Regions from separate parts of the Homo sapiens genome. Here all the other regions are linked to region 1. Evidence: promoter capture Hi-C in 16 types of primary human blood cells and fetal thymus (Javierre and others, 2016). All regions are on one chromosome and are shown on one strand. The core of a region is centred on a gene start or on the middle of the fragment in contact, and the rest is flanking DNA. Distances in the headings are between cores, read along the strand shown.

What was found. Contacts are between HindIII fragments. The CHiCAGO score rates a contact against its expected background, and 5 or more counts as called.
Region 2: a fragment that was not itself captured here is called in contact with the fragment with the promoter of ANKRD13C in region 1 in 6 of 17 cell types (naive CD4 T cells, fetal thymus, total CD4 T cells and 3 more); the score reaches 7.2 in naive CD4 T cells.
Region 3: a fragment that was not itself captured here is called in contact with the fragment with the promoter of ANKRD13C in region 1 in 1 of 17 cell types (total B cells); the score reaches 5.6 in total B cells.

The regions. Positions count from the first base shown.
Region 1 is chr1:70,353,366-70,356,065 of GRCh38, forward strand. It overlaps ANKRD13C (ankyrin repeat domain 13C), which reads right to left and starts at 1,357. Exons shown (of 13, transcript NM_030816.5): 1 at 614-1,357. The coding sequence starts at 1,043. It overlaps ANKRD13C-DT (ANKRD13C divergent transcript), which reads left to right and starts at 1,446. Exons shown (of 4, transcript NR_168352.1): 1 at 1,446-1,843. RefSeq lists enhancers at 1-963, 223-1,141, 1,097-1,146, 1,142-2,059, 1,187-1,246 and 3 more. The HindIII fragment of the contact is 4,699 bases long and covers 897-2,700 here.
Region 2 is chr1:71,070,200-71,072,899 of GRCh38, forward strand. ZRANB2 (zinc finger RANBP2-type containing 2) reads right to left here. Exons shown (of 10, transcript NM_203350.3): 5 at 2,273-2,349; 6 at 1,922-2,056; 7 at 628-797. Among named protein-coding and RNA genes, the nearest start is that of MIR186, 3.8 kb to the left of the region's middle. The HindIII fragment of the contact is 3,187 bases long and covers 1-2,700 here.
Region 3 is chr1:71,087,171-71,089,870 of GRCh38, forward strand. The region is part of intron 1 of ZRANB2-DT (ZRANB2 divergent transcript); the gene reads left to right. It overlaps LOC105378795 (a long non-coding RNA gene), which reads right to left and starts at 1,786. Exons shown (of 3, transcript XR_001737669.2): 1 at 1,638-1,786. The HindIII fragment of the contact is 2,012 bases long and covers 362-2,373 here.

The sequences.
Region 1 (2,700 bases), core at 107-2,606:
ATCAAATCTCTACTCAAACAAAAATCGGCTGTTGAGAAGTCACTTTAACTGTTCTACGTATCAAATACCAACAAATTTCTACTGTGTGGCTTTCAGAAATCTAACATTCTAAGTTTACTGAAAGCAGACAAAAAAGAAACAACCTGGTGGCAGGCAAAATCACAACCAGTTGCAGTCAAGATGGGATCTGTATGTGAGCAATGAAGGGAGGAGGGCAATTTATGCGTTCAAAATTTAAAATGCCAAGGTAGGGGGAAGAGAGAGAAATAAAGATATATAGCTCCATAAACAAAGGGAGAAAACCATGTTGGGTGGGAGGCAACCTAAAATTTCTGACAGTCCAGAATCAGCAAATCGAAGGCCTGTCTCAAACAAAACAGCTTCTCACGACAAACTTTGAAGTGGGCAAGGAGGATACATTCCTTTGCACCCACAAGAACCAACCCCTTGACCACTGGCACGCTATTACTGAGTCGATCATGATTTACCGAACGGCCCGGATGATGGGCAAAAAGAAGAGTCTGCTGGAGGGGGCCTAGGATTCCAGAAGCCTGGGGAGGCACACCCTAGGCTCGGGGAAGGAGAGAGGTGGAGAGGGGCTAGCACTCCTCACCGTGATTATCTTTCTGCCCGATATTGTGCGTGCGGATGAGAGAGGAGAGTCTCCTCACATCCCCCTTGAAGACGCACTCGTGCACCGGGTAGTGTGCGGGGCAACTGCCTCCATCCGCGACGACAGCAACGGGGTTGGTGCCGGCCAGAAGGGCCGGGGACTGGGAGTTGGCAGTCACGGAGGAATTGTGCAGCGGCAGAGCCGGGGCGCCGGGGGGATTGGAGGAGGCCGGAGCTGCCTTCAGCTGTAGCCGGTGGTGATGGTTACTGAAGATCTTATGACAAGCTTTGCCGCCCTTGCCAATCCTGCTTCTGGTAAAGGTACCGCCGAGGGCAGCCGCCGCTTCCTCATCCCCGGGCTCCAGCAGGTCCCCTTCTTCTTTGCTGGGCTTGTGGTCCCTCCGCAGTGAGCGGATCTTCTCCCCGGTCATCGCCGCCGCCAGGGGCAAGGGGGGGAATCGGGAGGCTCACCGCTGGCGACGGAGCTGGCGCTGCGGCGGCACAAGGCGATTAGAGCGGTGGCCAAGAGCCTCCAGCGCAGCATGAACTCCCACTGAGCCCCCGAGCCTGGGACAAACGCATCTCCCGGGGAAGAGCCGGCTCTCGCCTAGGCACGAAGGGACGCGCGCTCGCTGGGGGAAGCTAGAACTCAGGTGCCCACGACACCAGGATCTCAGTCTCGCCGTCGCAGCCGCCGTCGCTGCCTTACACCGAAAAACAGGGCACGGCCATCTTCCTCTTGCTCCTCTCGCGAGAGCTCCCCCAGGAGTGAAGAGAGAGAAAACACCGCGATAAGTGAGCCACCCGCTCCCTCCCTCGCACCTTCTATTCCCAGAATCACTAGGCGCCGGCGCCTCCGAGGCAGTGTGTTTCCGCCCAGAGCTGGAGTCTCCCAGCTGCCAGCCGACCCCGAACCCGCACTCCCGCCAACCGCGCTTTTTGTGGGCGGTCGGAAACCACAGCCTCCGTTGGATATGTTCGGTGCATGTTATAAACAACCACTTAAACCCTCCGGATCTGAGCCTCCCGCAGAGGAATGCAGAATGACGCCACGGCACGCAGGATGTGATGTCACCGAGATGCAGAGGATACTCAGTCAACCAACATTTACTGAGCATCTACTTCGTGCCGTATGTACGAAGCTAGCAAATATGTACAGCACCAGTACTGATTGCAGGGAGCACTGTAGAAGAGGAATGAAGGCCAAACAATTAAAAGCGGAGGCGGGGAGGTGGGTTGCACACAAAAAAGGGAGGGACGAATTTTAGTGTTGAGTTGTCAGGAAAGTCATAGAAGAGTTTAGGTGCTGACTTTGGAAAATGATGGGCTGTCCAGCAATCGGAAAGAGGGGAGGCCACTCAAATATTTATTAGATGAATGAATTTCGGGCAGATGTCAGAGTTAACATATATGAGGGTGGGGACACTCAAGGAGGGCAAAGAATCGTGTAACTGAAATATAATTGTATTAGTTCATGGCCAACCTCAACCTAGTGTCAAACTCTGAAGAAACGTAAATCTGCCAACCATAAAACTTTAACAAAGTAACTAAAGCTGGCCACTGAGGACGTAAGGAGGGGGCTTAGCAAAACATCCTAAAGATCTTCACCCATTTAACTCTCCAAAGTCCCCCTATGTTCTGAGAGCAAATACTTCAGATCTCTCTCTCTTTTTTTTGTTTTTTTGTTTTTTTGACAGAGTCTCTGTAGTCCAGGCTAGAGTGCAGTGGTGCAATCTCGGCTCACTGCGACCTCCACCTCCCAGGTCCAAGCGATTCTCCTGCCTCAGCCTCCAGAGTAGCTGGGATTATAGGCCTGCGCCACCACACCAAGCTAATTGTTGTATTTTTAGTAGAGACGGGGTTTCACCGTGTTGGCCAGGCTGGTCTTGAACCCCTGACCTCAGTGATCCGCCAGCCTCAGCCTCCCAAAGTGCTGGGATTACAGGCATGAGCCACTGCGCCCGGCCAGATCTCTTCTTTCTTAAAGTTTATACTACTGCTAACTCATCTCCGCAAACAAACAACTCGATGGGCCTCTCTTAATCCTCCCCAGTCACTCAACTTTTCACCTCCAATTTTCTTCTCAGT
Region 2 (2,700 bases), core at 194-2,693, 720 kb after region 1:
AATCACTGCTTTCACTCACCTAAAATTTTATTTTTATTGTTAACTATAAAATCAGAGATTACATATTTTACATCAACAAACAATATTCAAGTACACCAAAAGAGTTTTAGTTTACGCCTGGACTTCTCAAAATTATGAGCATGAAGTCAACAGAACTAATATGGCTGAATTTGCTCCGTTATTCACAATACTGATATCAAAGCAAACTATTAAAAACATTATGTAATAAGCAATGATTTAATGCCTAGAAAATTTCTGTGCTAGCCTTTAACATCTTGAATGAAAATACAGATCTCCCCTTTACTTAATTTCTATATGTAAGCTATCTCTTTAGATTAATTAAATATAAGTGTATATAAAAATTTAATTCAGTTTTTAAGTCTATTTTAGTCAAAAGCATGAGGCTAAAATAGGTTAAGGAAGTTTCATGCTAAGACTTTACTTTTCTAAAAATACTGGACAACAACTGTATGGTACTAAGCTGAAAAATTATTTTAAAAGTTGATTTGAATTAAATTTTTAAAATAAAAAGGAAAGTTTATTTCGTCAAGAAAAACAAAATTTATAAATAAAAAAGTTAGATACTGACATTTTGACTGGTGTTACCCTTGACCTGTACCCGTTTACCTGGACCTAGACCTTGAACTTGAGGGGGAGGATGAGCGTGATGAAGATCGTGAATGTGAAGATCGAGACTTTGAGCGACTTCGTCTATTAGATTTCTTTTTATTACTATCTTCTTCTTCACTGGCATCAAGATTATATTTTGAGAGATCAGCGTCATCTTCATCCTCATCCTAACAAAAATTCAATTATAATTAGACATTTAGATATTAGTGTTACCTACCAGGAAAGATAAAACAGTTAGGTGTACTGAGCACCTCCATATGCATATATCACAGGTATCTCAGCAAATTAATTCTGAATTCTAAAATTCACCTACTAAACTCATCTCAAATAGAGACTTGACAACTTTGTCTCAGGTATTGCACAGACATAAACCTGGAGGCCATACACACTTTTTCTGTCACACTTATGCATCACCCAAGAATTTTCAAGTCCACCTCCTTAAAAGTCCTTGAAATCACCATTTTTAGTCTTAGACACTCTGTTCCTTATTCTCTAGCATATTATAGTAACCTCTTAGCTGGTCTCCTCAAATCTGAAGATCCATTCTGCCTCTCTAGTATCTCAATATACTGACAGTCATCACTCTGAAACACAGGACAGATAAACACATCTCACTTTTTTCTTAAAAACTTCAAAACTGGCTTATTATTTCTTTAGTTGCATTCCAAGACCTCTTATGATCAGGCTCTAAGGTACCCTTAACATGGCATAAAACTTACACTCTGGCCTGACAGAACAAGTATCACCAGACCTGAAATGTGTGCTGTCCCCCTCATCTCATTCTCCCCTCTGCTCTAACTATACTGGCCTATGTATGGTATTTTTGAAGGCTGCTGGCTTATCTCCTATTTAGGGAACCCGTATTTGCTGTTCTCTGCCTAAATGTGCTCTCACCTCGGCTCTTATTGCTGGCTCCTTCCTATCATTCAAGTTTCAGCTCAAACTTCACCTCCTTAGACATTATCCATCGGCAAAACCAAAGTTGCTTTTAAACTGTTATCACATCATGTGTCTTCATAACGTTACTGCTATCAAAATTACCTATTTATATATTTCCTCCTCTAGAACTGTGTAAGAGAAAACTGGTTCTGTTTCGGTCACCACTGTATCTCCAGAACAGTAGTGTTCCAAGTACAAATAGTACTTGGCAGAGTGGAAATCCAAAACCTTTGTGAGAACAAATGAAAACACAGAATATATTTTCACCAAGTGTCTGAGGCTGTCAAAAGCATTCATGTTATGGTATAACTCCAATAAGACAAAAGGGAAATAGGACAAGAAAATTGTTCACCTCATCTAACTTATATTTAGAAAGATCTTCATCCTCATCCTCTTCTTCTCCCTCTGATTCTTTATCTTCAACTTCCTTTAATATAGATGCAGGACCAACTGCTTTCCCTCTGTATTTTTTCTTTTTACGTCCAAACTAGAGAAAAACAATTTCAAAATGCTTGTCAGCTGATAATGCATTAAACTTAATACATTTTCTAAAAAATTATTTTAGATATTTATGATTTCCTGAAAATGATCAGTTGCTGAAGACTCAAATTGCACTTAAAAAAAAGTTTGTTTTCCTTTGCATTTAAGAATTTTTTCTGTTTTTCTAATTTATATTCAACCTGAACACCAAAATATAGCTTACCTCATCATATTCACCATCAGATTCTTCTCTTTCTATATATTCAACATTTTCTCTTTCATTAAAACCACCACCATATCCTTAAAAAAGAGGGCACAAATTGTTACCCTATGACAATTGATTTAAATAATAAACACATCATGCCCAAATCTCCAGACAACAAAAAACATCTAATCAACAATGGCTGCCTACCCATCTAATAAATTACTAGTCTTTAGAAAGCATATTAGAAATCACCACAGAAAATACAGAGAACTTAGTTGTAACGTCATATGGCTGTACTTCTAGCTCTTTTCAATTCCAAATTGCCCTACATGACTTATTTAATTCATAGAAAGTATTGGTGGAAAACATCTCAAACTTCTGCTATAACCAAGTTTTAAAGGACTTTCCTCTACAGTTAATCGTAATTCTTCTGGGAAGGGTGGGCT
Region 3 (2,700 bases), core at 118-2,617, 730 kb after region 1:
TCTTCAAATTTCCAGACTCTAGTTGCTCTGGCTTGAGTCAGGTGTGCACCTCTATCCAATCAGCTATGTCAGTTTTTCAGGATCATGGTGTAATGTATAGACCTGACTGCTAGGAGGCACTCCTGTGGGACAAGGGGAGTAAAGGGTAGTGCCCACAGAAAAGAAAAAGCAGTTGGTTCTTGTATTGGTTTTCTAGTGCCAAGTAACAAATTACCACAACCTTAGAAGCTTAAAGTAACATGTATTTGTTATCTCTCAGTTTCTGTGGATGAGAAGTCTGGGCATAGCTTAATTGGATTATCTGCTTAGGGTTTCACTAGGCAGCAATCAAGGTGCCAAGTGGAGCTGCAATTTCATCTGAAGCTTTTAGGCATATTCAGGTTGTTAGTGGAATTTAGTTCCCTGAAACTTTACATCAGAGGTCCCTATTTTCTTGGGAGATGTTGGCCAGGGGGTTCTCTCAGCTTCTAGAGACTGCCCTCAGGTCCTAATTACATGGCCATCTCAAAACGGAGTTTACTTCTCCAAAGCCAGCAGGAGAATTTCTCTCCAGTTGGCTGCTGCTGCTGCCACTACCATTACTACTATATACTACTACTATAACTATTACTGCTATAAAGTCTTATATAATATAATGTAATCAGAGGAGAAATGGTTCCGTCCCCTTTGCCATATAACATAAACTAATCAAAGGAGTGCCATCTCATTGTATTCACAGGTCCTGCCCACACTCACAGAGAGGGTATAATACAGGGCATGTACACCAGGACACAGAAATCTTGGGAGCCATCTTGAAATTCTGCCAACCATGGCTTCTGAATAGGCAAATACTCCAAAGGCCACTACAGTTGTTGCTTTCTCAAATCATTGAGACATCCTTCTTAAACTGATGGTCTATATTTTTCTCTTTAACTTTATTTTAAGAATGGCATAGTTTATGGGATGTGTGTGAGTATTCATGGACACTCAAGTCTCACATACCCCAAATATACATCTCTAAGAATATTTTGTCACACAGATTTCTTTCAAATTTAAAATAAATGTGCTGAAAGAAATGACAAGACGTTATTAAACATTGTTTACTTAGTACGTGTTATGATTTGACATTCTTAGAAATTCACTACATTAAAAAATGTGAATACATGTGCGCACACACACACACACACACACACAACAACAACTCTCCTACAACTTAAATGCTCTTTTCATTCTGTAGAAACCATTAATAGGGAATTTTTGCCAGTTGGTGTTTCAGAGTCCTTTATAAATTAATTATAGTATTTACCAGCCATGTGGGAGTGAGAAGTCTAATTAGGTCAAGGAGGCTGGCCCTGCTGGAGACTGAGGGCAAAAGCATATATACGGTGTCAGTCACAAATCTACTGCAGTTCTTTCTTGAGCACGTATGTTTAAATAAAAAACTGGAACAATTCAAATGCTACATACAAAGTTATGAGAAAAATCATATCACAATTAGAATAAAAGCAGGTTGAAGTTTGCCATCTATCTATAGCAAAAATAAAATGTTTTTACTGACGAAGGATTTCACACACCTGTGCCATGCCACAGCAGGTATGGCATGTTCAATTCTGACAACACACTCATTTATTTATTTGTCCATTCATTCATTGACTTACCCACTCAACAGGTACAGGACTAGATATTGCAGCTATAAAGAAGATTATGTCACAGTCTCTTTGTTTAAGGAGCGCACAGAGTGCCGATGCATATGGATGTGTAAATAGTGAGAAAACTGTGTTGTAAGTATAGTATAGGTATAATCAGAGGATATTATGGGTGTTCCCAGGAAGAATGACTCCCTCAGTTCATGGGTGGGGAAGGGAAATGCATTAAGGATACTTCATCACAAGTAACAGAAACCAAAGCTGGTTAAACTTTATCCTTAAAGGACTGGGATAAGAGCGAGGCAAATAACACAAACAGGGCATGACATTTAAGGAGGCAGTCTCAGGTGCTGAGCCTGGAGTTATCACTTGAGAATGAGCGCCTCCTTAAATGTTGAACCCTAGGCATCTGGCTCACCCTAGTCCCCATCCTGTTATTCCTTCAGTCTTACCTTCTTCAAAAACTCTCATCCCCCACAGTGAAAAACAGTTGAAAAACTGTTTACATCCTAGTGTAAATAACTAAAAACAGTTTAAAGTGTCCTTTTTTTTTTTTTTTTTTGAGACGGAGTCTGGCTGGAGTGCAATGGCACGATCTCGGCTCACTGCAACCTCCACCTCTCCACCTCCTGGGGTCAAGCGATTCTTCTGCTTCAGCCTCCCGAGTAACTGGGGTTATAGGCATGCACCGCTACTCCCAGCTAATTTTTGTATTTTTAGTAGAGATGGGGTTTCACCACGTTGGCCAAGCTTGTCTGGAACTCCTGATCTCAAGCGATGCACTCATCTTGGCCTCCCAAAGTGCTAGGATTACAGGCGTGAGCCACCGCACCCTGCCTAAAGTTTACATTCTTATAAAGGGATTTTCAGTTAAATCAAGTATTAAACCATGAAAGAAAAACTCAAATGTTTACAGGGTTCAGGCAGTAACATAAATCAATGATGCAGGCCTGTGTAAAACACTAGGGAATGAGGGAAAATGTGATGAGCTGTTCAAAGCCTTTCAAATTCAACCTAAACATAAATGTTGTCTTGGCCAAATAAAAAGTTCTTTTGGATTATCAGGTCAGTAGGA